2 separate regions of the Homo sapiens genome follow, and region 1 is linked to region 2. The links are contacts of gene promoters, found by promoter capture Hi-C in blood cells and fetal thymus (Javierre and others, 2016). All regions are on one chromosome and are shown on one strand. The core of a region is centred on a gene start or on the middle of the fragment in contact, and the rest is flanking DNA. Distances in the headings are between cores, read along the strand shown. Region 1 has its middle 11 kb from the start of TACC1. Region 2 holds the start of PLPBP (pyridoxal phosphate binding protein).

Region 1 (5,076 bases), core at 321-2,820, 1.0 Mb after region 2:
CTGCTCTTCAACCACGCTTACTCAAAACTGGAGGCTGCTTCTGTCCTTAGTGTCTTGATGAAGGAACGCTGTTACCCTACACTTCACCCAGGCAGCTTCTGCCTATCCCTGAGGCTTCAGTCTGTCACTCCTTCAGAGCAACCTCCCTTGACATCTCCACCGATGCCGTCCACCAGCCATTCTCAGAGCCCCCTGCAGTTCTTATATTTCATACATGACAATTTATATATTACATATTTATTTGTTGGCTTACTAAGCTCACTAATATGCAAGTTCTATGAGGGCAGGAACTGGGTCTCTTTTGTTCAACACAGTGTTCAGCAGAGGCTGGCAAAGCTTGGTCATTTGTCAAATTTGTGGAATGAATGAATGAATGAATGAATGAATGAACATATGTATTATTTTGCCTTAAACACTAAAGGTATTTAAAAATACATTTTTTATTATTGTTTTGAGACAGAGTCTCACTCTATAGCCCAGGCTGAAGTGCAGTGGTAGCATCACAGCTCACTGCAACCTTGAATTCCTGGGCTCAAATGATCCTCCCATCTTGGCCTCCCAAGTAGCTAGGACTACAGGTGTGCATTGCCACACCAGGCTAATTTTTTTTTGTTTTTGTTTTTGAAGGGATGGGGTCTCACTATGTTGCCTAGGCTATAAAAATATTTTTAAAGGCCAGCCACGGTGGCTCACGCCTGTAATCCCAGCACTTTGGGAGGCCGAGGCGGGCGGATCACGAGGTCAGGAGTTCGAGACCAGCCTGTCCAACATGGTGAAACCCCCTCTCTACTAAAAATACAAAAATTAGCTGGGCATGGTGGCACATGCATGTAATCCCAGCTACTCGGGAGGCTGAAGCAGGAGAATCGCTTGAACCCCAGAGGCAGAGGTTGCAGTGAGCGAAGATCGCACCACTGCACTCCAGCCTGGGTGACACGGTGAGACTCCGTCTCAAAAAAAAAAAAAAAAAAATGAAAACCAAAAACTTTTAAAACAAAGTACAAGACTATTTGTATGTATTTGCTTTATAAAACAATTTACAGTGCCTTTTAAAATGAGGTGAATTTTGGGGAGAAGTCATATCTCTATTATACATACCAAGTGGGCATATCTTTTGGGGCTGGGGGGAAACTCCAGAATTCATACCTTCATACCTTCCTTGCAAGGGTTATGAATCCTAGTTGTGCACTTTGGTGCCTGAGTAAACCTTCTTCCAAAAAGAATGATATTCGACCCAGTGATCTTTGGCAAAGGTCCTTTCCAGCTAAAAATTTCTGTGGTTCTATGAGATCTGAGATGGATGCTTAGGTTAGGAGTCAGTGATTATCTTAGTCTGTTAAGGCTACTATAAGGATATAATTGCCTGGGTGGTTTATAAACCAGTCATTTATTTCTGGAAGTTCTGGAGGATGGAGGTCCCCATGATTAAGGGACCAGCAGATTCCACATCTGGTGAAGGCTGACCTCCTGGATGTCTTCTCCCTGTGTCCTCATTTGGCAGAAGAAGGGAGAGGGAGCTGTCTGGGGTCTCTTTTATAAGGGCGCTGACCCCAGGAAGAACCCTCATGACCTAATCACCTCCCAAAGGCCCCACTTCTTAATATTCTCACATTGGAGTTTAGGTTTTAACCTATGAATTTTGGGGGGATATAAACAGTCAGTCTGTAGCAGTGATTTATCATTTGTTCAGAAAATAATGTAAAACAAATATATTCTGCTCAGTGTCTATGCCTTGGCCAAAGGAAACAGAAAACACATAAGATATTCCTATATCATACATGATGAGGTACAGGGAAGACCGGTAAGGATAAACTCGCTCTTGCTTGTCATAGTTCTATAAAATAATACAACAAAATAACTTGACTAATTGAGCCCATAAGAAAACAATTTCTAAAAATATTTTGTGTGTGTGCTAGAAATCGTCACTAGCACCAGTTAGTGTTGAAGCCAAAGAACAATGATTAATTCACTTATAGGATTTGGGTCAGTTATTATTTATTATTGTTATTATTTATCCTTAGAATTGGGCAAATATTGGAGTTATACAATCATATTATTTCAAGGAAATCTCCCCAAAGAAAATAATAACCTTCATCAATATGTAAATCCATTCTACTTGGCCTTTGTGAAATCTAAATATTGACTCCCTCCTTCTTCAACGTTTTTGTCCACATCAGTCATCTTTAAAAATGCAACTGCCTAATTTCTAGAAAGTCAGTATCACAGCTCAAGTCATTACGGCAGAAGGAAGGGTAGTCTCAGTCCTGTTTTTAGGATAATTAGGACATCATCCACGGGGCAGGCTTGAGTCTTTTGGTTCGGGAATTTTCTGCCCTGAGAAAAGACATCATTGAGATACAGGTAGAGTGTTCCTTATCCAAAATGCTTAGGACCAGAAGTGTTTCAGATTTTAGATTTTGGAATATTTGCATATACATAATGAGATAGCTTGGGGATGGGACCCAAGTCTAAACATGAGATTCATTATGTTTCATATACACCTTCTACACATAGCCTGAAGGTAATTTTAAACAGCAGTTGTAATAATTTTGTGCATGAAACAAAGTTTTGACTGTGTTTTGACTGTGACTGGCCACATGAAATTAGGTGTGGAATTTTCCACTGTGGTGTCATGTTGACAAGCAAAACGTTTTGGATTTTAGATTGTTGGATTAGGGATGCTCAACCTGTGTAGATTTATCATTTTTAAAAATGCTTCCATCTTTGAAGGAACTTTCATGTAATCCTGTTCAGAAGAATGTAGAACGAAATTTAAGGCAGGTTCTTCCCATACCTTCATCTAAGGAAGCTTAGATGCTGAAATCCCCCAGAGGAGGTTGTAATGTGAGGGTGGAGATGAGGCTGCTGTTACAAAGGGGCCCAGTGACACAGTCTGATAAAGAAGATAGACTTTTAGGCTGGGCACGGTGGCTCACGCCTGTAATTCCAGCACTTTGGGAGGCTGAGGCAGGCGGACCACCTGAGGTCAGGAGTTCGATACCAGCCTGGCCAACATGGTGAAACCCCATGTCTACTAAAAATACAAAAATCAGCTGGGTGTGGTGGCACGAGCCTGTAATCCCAGCCACTCTGGAGGCTGAGACAGGAGAATTGCTTGAACCCGGGAGGCAGAGGTTGCAGTGAGCCGAGATCACGCCACTGCACTTCAGCCTGGGCAACAGAGTGAGACTCCATCTCAAAAAAAAAAAAAAAAGAGAAGATAGACTTTTCTCTCTCATGGAACAGTCCTCAGGCAGCAATTAGTCTAGGGCCGCAGGCTGCTCTGCTCCCCAGTCAGCCTGGTGCGGGTTCTGTCTGTTCTGTGGCTCTATCCTGTCCAGAGTGTGGTCCTCACACAGCAGAAGTTGTGACACGCAGTTCACAACTTTTCGGCCGGGAGAGGCTGGACATGCAGTTTTCTTTTTAAAGACATTGGCCCAGGGGCCAGGCACAATAGCTCATGTCTATAATCCCACTGCTTCTGTAGGCCAAGGGGTGAGAATTGCTTGAGTCCAGGAATTTGAGACCAGCCTGGGCAACACAGCAAGACCCTGTTTCTACAAACAAAACAAAACAAAACAAAAAACATTAGCTGGACATGGTGGTGTGCACCTGGATTTCCAGCTACTCAAGAGGCTGAGGTGGGAGGATTGCTAGAGCCCAGGAGCTCGAGGCTATAGTGAGATATGATTACACTACTGCATTTCAGCCTGGACAATAGAGCAAAACTCTGTCTCTAAAAGAGAAAAAAAAGACACTGCCCCAAATTTGCACTTACCCCTTGTGCTCACATCCCATGGGTGAGAACTGAGTCACAGGCCACACCTAGTTGTAGAGAAGGAAACGTGGCCTCTTGCTGTGTGACCATGTGCTCAGCAAAAATTCAGAGGGTTCTTTTGCTAGAAGAAATAAGGAAATGATGGATACAGATGGATACAGGATGTGGGGTGAGGGAATTAGGCTCTACCATGGTGATCTTGTGGAAATTCAAAGAGTAGAGGTGCATAGACACACAATGTTAAAGAAGCATTATAGTTTTTCTTTTTTATCTTTGTGTGTGTGCATGTGTGTAGAGATGGGCTCTCACTGTGTGGTCCAGGCTGGTCTCAAACTCCTGGGCTCAAGCGATCCTCCTGCCTTCGTCTCCCAAAGTGTTGGGATTACAATCATGAGCCACCACACCTGGCCTTTTGCTTTTTTATCTTAATAATTAAAATTGTGTGTGTGTGTGTGTGTGTGTATGTGTGTGTTTACAATGGGTACAGAAGGAACAGAGCCATGAATTATGTTTCACAATCTGTGTAGGAGATATCTTTTGACAGTTTTATCCAGTTTCCAACAGTTAAATATTTTTGTTTCCTCTAAGAAGACAGAGGTCAGTGTGACCCCCTCGCTCCATAAATGGACATTTCACTTACTGAGTTGAGGCCAGCTGAACCACTCCTGAGCCACAGGCAGGAATCTCTTTTGTTCTCTGGGCAGAGCTGAATTTACTATGAAGCTGAGGAAGCCTAAGCTTCAGTCCCCTCCCTTGCATGGGCCCCTTCATACTAGTGTGGCCCTAGCACTGTGTTCATGGGGTCCTTTAGCATTTTTCTTAAAGAGTGCTTCCCCAGTTTTTAGGCTTCCTGCTTCACAAAATCAGGCCTTGGCAACCTGTTTGATGCCTCCTTTCTTTGCTGAGCCTTGCTACTTTTTCCCAGATGGGGAGAGGCTCCTGGGTGTCATTTCCCTCATCAACATAGTTTCTTGGAAGAAACCACCCTAAAAGGAAGTATAGCGAAAGAGCATCCCAAAGAAAGAGATGTTAAAATTAATCCTTTTGCACCTCCCACATAAAGTATGCCTTTTATGCTCTGGCCCAATTTTTTGTGCCTTTGAGGATTCTCATTTGTATCAGTAGGGGTCCTTGGGTTTTTTTTTTTTTTTTCTTTTCTTTTTAGACAAGGTCTCGCTCTGTCACCCAATCTGGAATGCAATGCCACAATCACGGCTTACTTCAGCCTTGACCTTCTGGGCTCAAGCGATCCTCCTGGGCTCAAGATTAGCTGGGACTACAGGCGAACACCACCACGC
Region 2 (5,183 bases), core at 1,588-4,087:
TTTTCCCCTTGGTCCTTGCAAATTATTGGAGCAATTTAAAGACAATTACTGGTGATGAAATGATTTTGGACTTGTATTTTTCAAGGATTAGGTAGTAGGGGAGGATGAAAGGTTAAATTGGATGGTTGATGTCCCAGGAAGAGGAAGAGAAGAAATTAAAAAAGCAAATAAGGAAAAAAAGGGACAAAGTGAAATAAAATTAATTCAAAAGTACAACTAAGAAGAAATTGGAATGTGAAATGACCATGGGACTGGGGGCACCATGATCTTTTTGTCTCCATTTCCATTTTCATAAGACCACAGAATGTCAGAGATGAAAAGCGAGCATATTGGAAGTAAATCGGCAGTAAAGCCTGTCTTACTCAGCCTGGTCTCTCTCAGGGTTCTTTACAGAGTAACGCCTCAGTAAATGTTCACTGAATGGATAAGGGGGTGGGAGGATGACCTTGCCTTGTAGTTCAAAGAATAGAGGTCCCTGGCTGGGCACGGTGGCCCACGACTGTAATCCCAGCACTTTGGGAGGCCGAGGCGGGTGGATCACAAGGTCAGGAGTTCGAGACCAACCTGGCTAACATAGTGAAACCCCATCTGTACTAAAAATACAAAAATTAGGCGGGCGTGGTGATGCACGCCTGTAGTCCCAGCTACTCGGGAGGCTCAGGCAGGAGAATCACTTGCACCCAGGAGGCAGAGGTTGCAGTGAGCCGAGATCGCGTCACTGCACTCCAGCTTGAGTGACAGAGCAAGACTTCGTCTCAAAAAACACAAAAAAGAATAGAGGCCCAATCTAGTAAATGAAGCTACAACTACTTGTTGTCATAGTGACGTAACACCTGGATTATACATTCCCTAGATCTGTGAGGTATTTATGGTTTTAAAATGTTTTCCAAATAGCACATTATTTGAAGTGTTTCATCTCACCCAATCCTTCCTCTACACATCCCATCACCATGATCCCCTCTGTCCTCCCCATCACTCACTGCTGGCTCGCTCCTTCCCACCTGTGTCTCTACAGCAAGCATCTATTATGCTCACACCACAAAGGGCCATTCTGGTCATTTTAAATTTTTTTATCATTTTGGTTGGAGTACAGATGTATCAAGTCTAGAGACATTTTATCTGAACACAATTACTCCTAATGTTGGCAGTCCTAGTTTGCAGATAACCCAGTTAATGTGTACCAGGGTAAATGACCAGAGACTTCCCAAAAAGAAGTCCCTTATTTTAAGGATCTGAGGTTCTGCCTAATGTGACTTTCCCAGAGCAGAAGATGTGAAATTCCATCTCTGTTCCTGGGAGTCTGGGGAAAAACTGTGAGAGGAGAGAGTAAGAATATTGCCCCTTCTTTCCGGAAAGCTCTAATAAACCCCATCACCTCAAGACAAGACCACCTGAAGAACAAACATTAGCCATTTCTCTAATATAATAGCATCCCACTTCATTAAGTTGAATTAATGTTTGAGAAACTTTCAACAGAAATTGCAGCCAAGAGTGCTTTCCTTAACAAAATTGATCTCCTTCTCCTTGCCCGTAGCACCTACTATTTCACCACCTGACTATGTAGCATTCTGTATTATTATTTGTATGGCCTGGCTCCTCATCAAGTTTATAACCATATTGCCCACAGAAGGGGACTCAAGAATCAAACTCAGGGCGTTGTGGTGCCCGTTTGTAGTCCCAGCTATTCTGTGAGGCGGAGGTGGGAGGATTGCTTGGGCCCACGAGTCCCAGATAATCTGGGCAACATAGCGAGACCCCATCTCAAAAAAAGAATCTAACTGAATGTGCTGAGCTCCTGCTAGACCATCTAAAGCTGCCTGTGGGCTGGGCGCGGTGGCTCGCACCTGTAGTCCCAGCTACTGGGGAGGCTGAGGCAGGAGAATCGCTTGAACCCGGGAGGTGGAGGTTGCAGTGAGCCCAGATCGGGCCACCGCACTCCAGCCTGGGTGACAGAGCGAGACTGTCTCAATAATAATAATAGTAATAATCATGCTGCCTGTGTCCCCTGATGAGACAGCACTGGCCGCAGGTGGCCGCTAACCTCTCGAAATAGGGATGGCCCGAATTGAGACATATGCAAGTCAACACTACACCGGGTTTCAGAAACACATACGATTTTCAAAAGAATTAAAATATCGCATTTAGTTTTTCTATTGATTGCATGTTGAAATCTTACTTTGGATATATTGGATTAAATAAAGTATATCATTAAAATTTTTAAGCTTATGTGCCTATGAGAAACTTCCAAATTACACAGTTGGATGGCGTTATATTTCTCTTGGACAGCAGTGGTCTGAAAGATGACAAAAATCACGATACGTTTGAATCACGCCATGTCTTTAGGGAAAAGAAGAAAGAAGAGTTTCCTTTCGTATCGCTTAGGGGTTCCTCGCAAGAACCATCTGACAGAGAAAAGCCCTGGCTCCCGCCCCAGTGGCTTCTAATTCTGGTCCCCGCGCCCAGAAAGCCGGGAACGGGCAAGCCTGGAAAGGCGTTTTGAAAGGAAACAGGATCCCCCGAGTATAGGATGCGTTTCTGCCTCACAAAAGTCCCTTGGGGGTGGGGGGACGGCAGCGGCTGAGGCGCAGGAAAGAGGAGAGCACACGGGGAGTGGCCCTTGGAACCAGGCGCGCAAAACCTCAGCCCCTAGGCTCCATTTCCAGGTTCGCGGGTGACCTCCCCAAGATGGCCGCCGCCTGGGGGCGGGCCTCCACGCTGCACGGGTGTTGATTGGGTGAGACGACTCAATGATGAGCAATGATTGGTTCACACGGCGCAAGCTGGGCGGAACCGGAAGATGGTGTGAGCCACGGGCTGCCGGGGGCCTGGGGCTCGGCGTCGGTCCCCGGGGGATGTGGAGAGCTGGCAGCATGTCGGCCGAGCTGGGAGTCGGGTGCGCATTGCGGGCGGTGAACGAGCGCGTGCAGCAGGCTGTGGCGCGGCGGCCGCGGGTGAGGAAGGAGGCTGCGTGGGGACGGTGGGCGGCCGCCTTGAGAAGAGGGACACCTGCGTGGGAATGGGTCGTCACGGTGACGCAGAGGGGTCTCCCAGAGAGGCGGGACTGGTCGGCCGCCTAGGGCCACCGAAAGGCTAGCGAAGGGTTTCCCCAGCCTCCTTACCTTGAGTCTGTTAGGTTTTCTGGAGATTGGCTTCGTTGGAGCAGAGGGTACCGCTACCTCGGGAAAATGACTTAGTGCCTAGGTGTCGTGGCCACTTGCGCACCGCGTCGTTTCGGGGTCGATAGCCTTGGCGGATGCGAGGGGGGCCAGGCCTGTGCCCACGGATGGTAAGGGGAGACGGGGGTACAAGAGCACCCCGCGGAGGCCAGAGACGCCCGAGATCGCGTGTGTGGCAGCGTCTCACCTGCTAAGTGCCCAAGAAATGCCAGTGCCGCCCGGAGGCCGAGGTGAGGGTGGACTGGCCGGACTTCGCTGGCATCAGAGCGGCACTTGTTTATGGGGCAGGAGGGAGAAGTCCAATCCCAAGCCGGTTAAGGGGAGCTTTCGTCTTTTGTGTATATATATATTACATCCTCTTGGACTTTGATTAGACCAAGAATCAAAATCTGCCCACCTCAGTGCAAGTTTAAGCTGAATGGTGTGGAATGAGACGGACCTTAACAGAGAGGTCACAGGTTTCTCTGATCGAGCATTTATGCTGGCTGAAGACAAGACCTGTATTATAGTCTTTCTTTGACTATTCCTTAGACGTTACCTTGAACAAGTCAGGTAACTATTCCGGCCCTCAGCTCTGAAAGCTCTGAGATCTCTTCTGATGTTAATATTCTGTGATTCTCGGTGATTCTCCAAGAAAAATCTAGGGCTTCCCCTAATAAACATCACCTTGGAGGTTCTCTCAGGGAAACTCTCAGGCAGATGGGCTGCCTGTTCGGGTAACTCTCTGGAAAGCGTCAATCATCAGCATACTCCCAGTAGTCACGACTTGGACTCAAACGAGGCTGGTTACGCATCGCTGTGGAAGGAAGGAAGAGGAGACATTTTTCTAATTGATCTGACTCCGTCACGTCCTTGAGAACACTGTGATTCTGTGAAAACTTCAGGGGATGATGGATACAAGAAGACTAAATCGTGCAAGGATAAACGAATCTCTTCTCTTACTGTTTCTATGTGGATTGGGTGGCAGCAGAACGCATAGAACCCCCGCTCTTTGTATAGTGGTCGTGAGAGGATGTCACATAGGTCTGATCCTGAATCCAGAATTTTTTGTGTCGCAGCCTTAGTTCTGCCACTGGTTCTTTTCTTTCTTTTTTTTTTTTTTTTTGTTGTGTTGTTTTGTTTTGTTTTGTTTTGTTTGAGACAGAGTCTCGTTCTGTCGCCCAGGCTGGAGTGCAGTGGCACGATCTTGGCTCACCGCAACCTCCACCTCCCGGGTTCACGCAATTCTCCTGCCTCAGCCTCCTGAGTAGCTGGGATTACAGGCACACACCACCACACCTGGCTAATTTTTTGTGTATTTTTAGTAGAGACAGGGTTTCATTATGTTGGCCAGACTGTTGTTTTTTGTTTTATTTTGAGACGGAGTCTCACTCTGTCACCCAGGCTGGAGTGCAATGGCACAGCCTCAGCTCACTGCAACCTCCACCTCCCGGATTCAAGCAATTCTCCTGCCTTAGCTTCCCAAGTAGCTCGGATTACAGATGCCCACCACCACACCTGGCTAAGTTTTAGTATTTTAATAGAGATGGGGTTTCACCTTTTGGCCAGGCTGGTCTCGAACTCGTAACTTCAGGTGATCCACCCACCTCGGCCTCCCACAGTGCAGGGATTACAGGCGTGTGGCTCACCTGGCCATGCCACTGGTTCTTAATTCACAGATTGAACAATCAATTACTTAGTTACCTAAGTGGGCCACTTTTAGAGTAAATGGGGCAGTGTTATTATGGTGTAATGATACACCAGGACTAGAATGAGTCGCCAAACTGCTAACGTTTGGGTTTCAGAAGCCAGAAGTGACCTCTCTTTTACTTAGAGTGCAGCCTTCTATTAATGAAGTGATTCTTAAGCCTCCAACATTAGTATGTCTTAGAGTCATCTGGAGAGATTGTTAAAAAGGAAATTCTCCGCTGGGCACAGTGGCTCATGCCTGTAATCCCAGCACTTTGGGAGGCCGAAGTGGGCAGATCACCTGAGGTCGGGAGTTCAAGGCCAGCCTGACCAACATGG

The links. The method cuts DNA at HindIII sites, captures the fragments that hold promoters and counts their contacts. A CHiCAGO score of 5 or more calls a contact.
Region 1: a fragment that was not itself captured here is called in contact with the fragment with the promoter of PLPBP in region 2 in 1 of 17 cell types (activated CD4 T cells); the score reaches 5.3 in activated CD4 T cells.

Annotation. Positions count from the first base shown.
Region 1 is chr8:38,774,058-38,779,133 of GRCh38, forward strand. It overlaps a transcript of TACC1 not described here. Among named protein-coding and RNA genes, the nearest start is that of TACC1, 11 kb to the right of the region's middle. The HindIII fragment of the contact is 2,473 bases long and covers 335-2,807 here.
Region 2 is chr8:37,759,808-37,764,990 of GRCh38, forward strand. PLPBP (pyridoxal phosphate binding protein) reads left to right here and starts at 2,838. Exons shown (of 8, transcript NM_007198.4): 1 at 2,838-2,951. The coding sequence starts at 2,853. LOC124901934 (a long non-coding RNA gene) reads right to left here and starts at 3,457. Exons shown (of 2, transcript XR_007060889.1): 1 at 3,120-3,457; 2 at 1-3,006. RefSeq lists enhancers at 2,387-2,466, 2,567-3,026, 2,604-2,898, 3,207-3,266 and a silencer at 2,526-2,846. The HindIII fragment of the contact is 3,991 bases long and covers 2,221-5,183 here.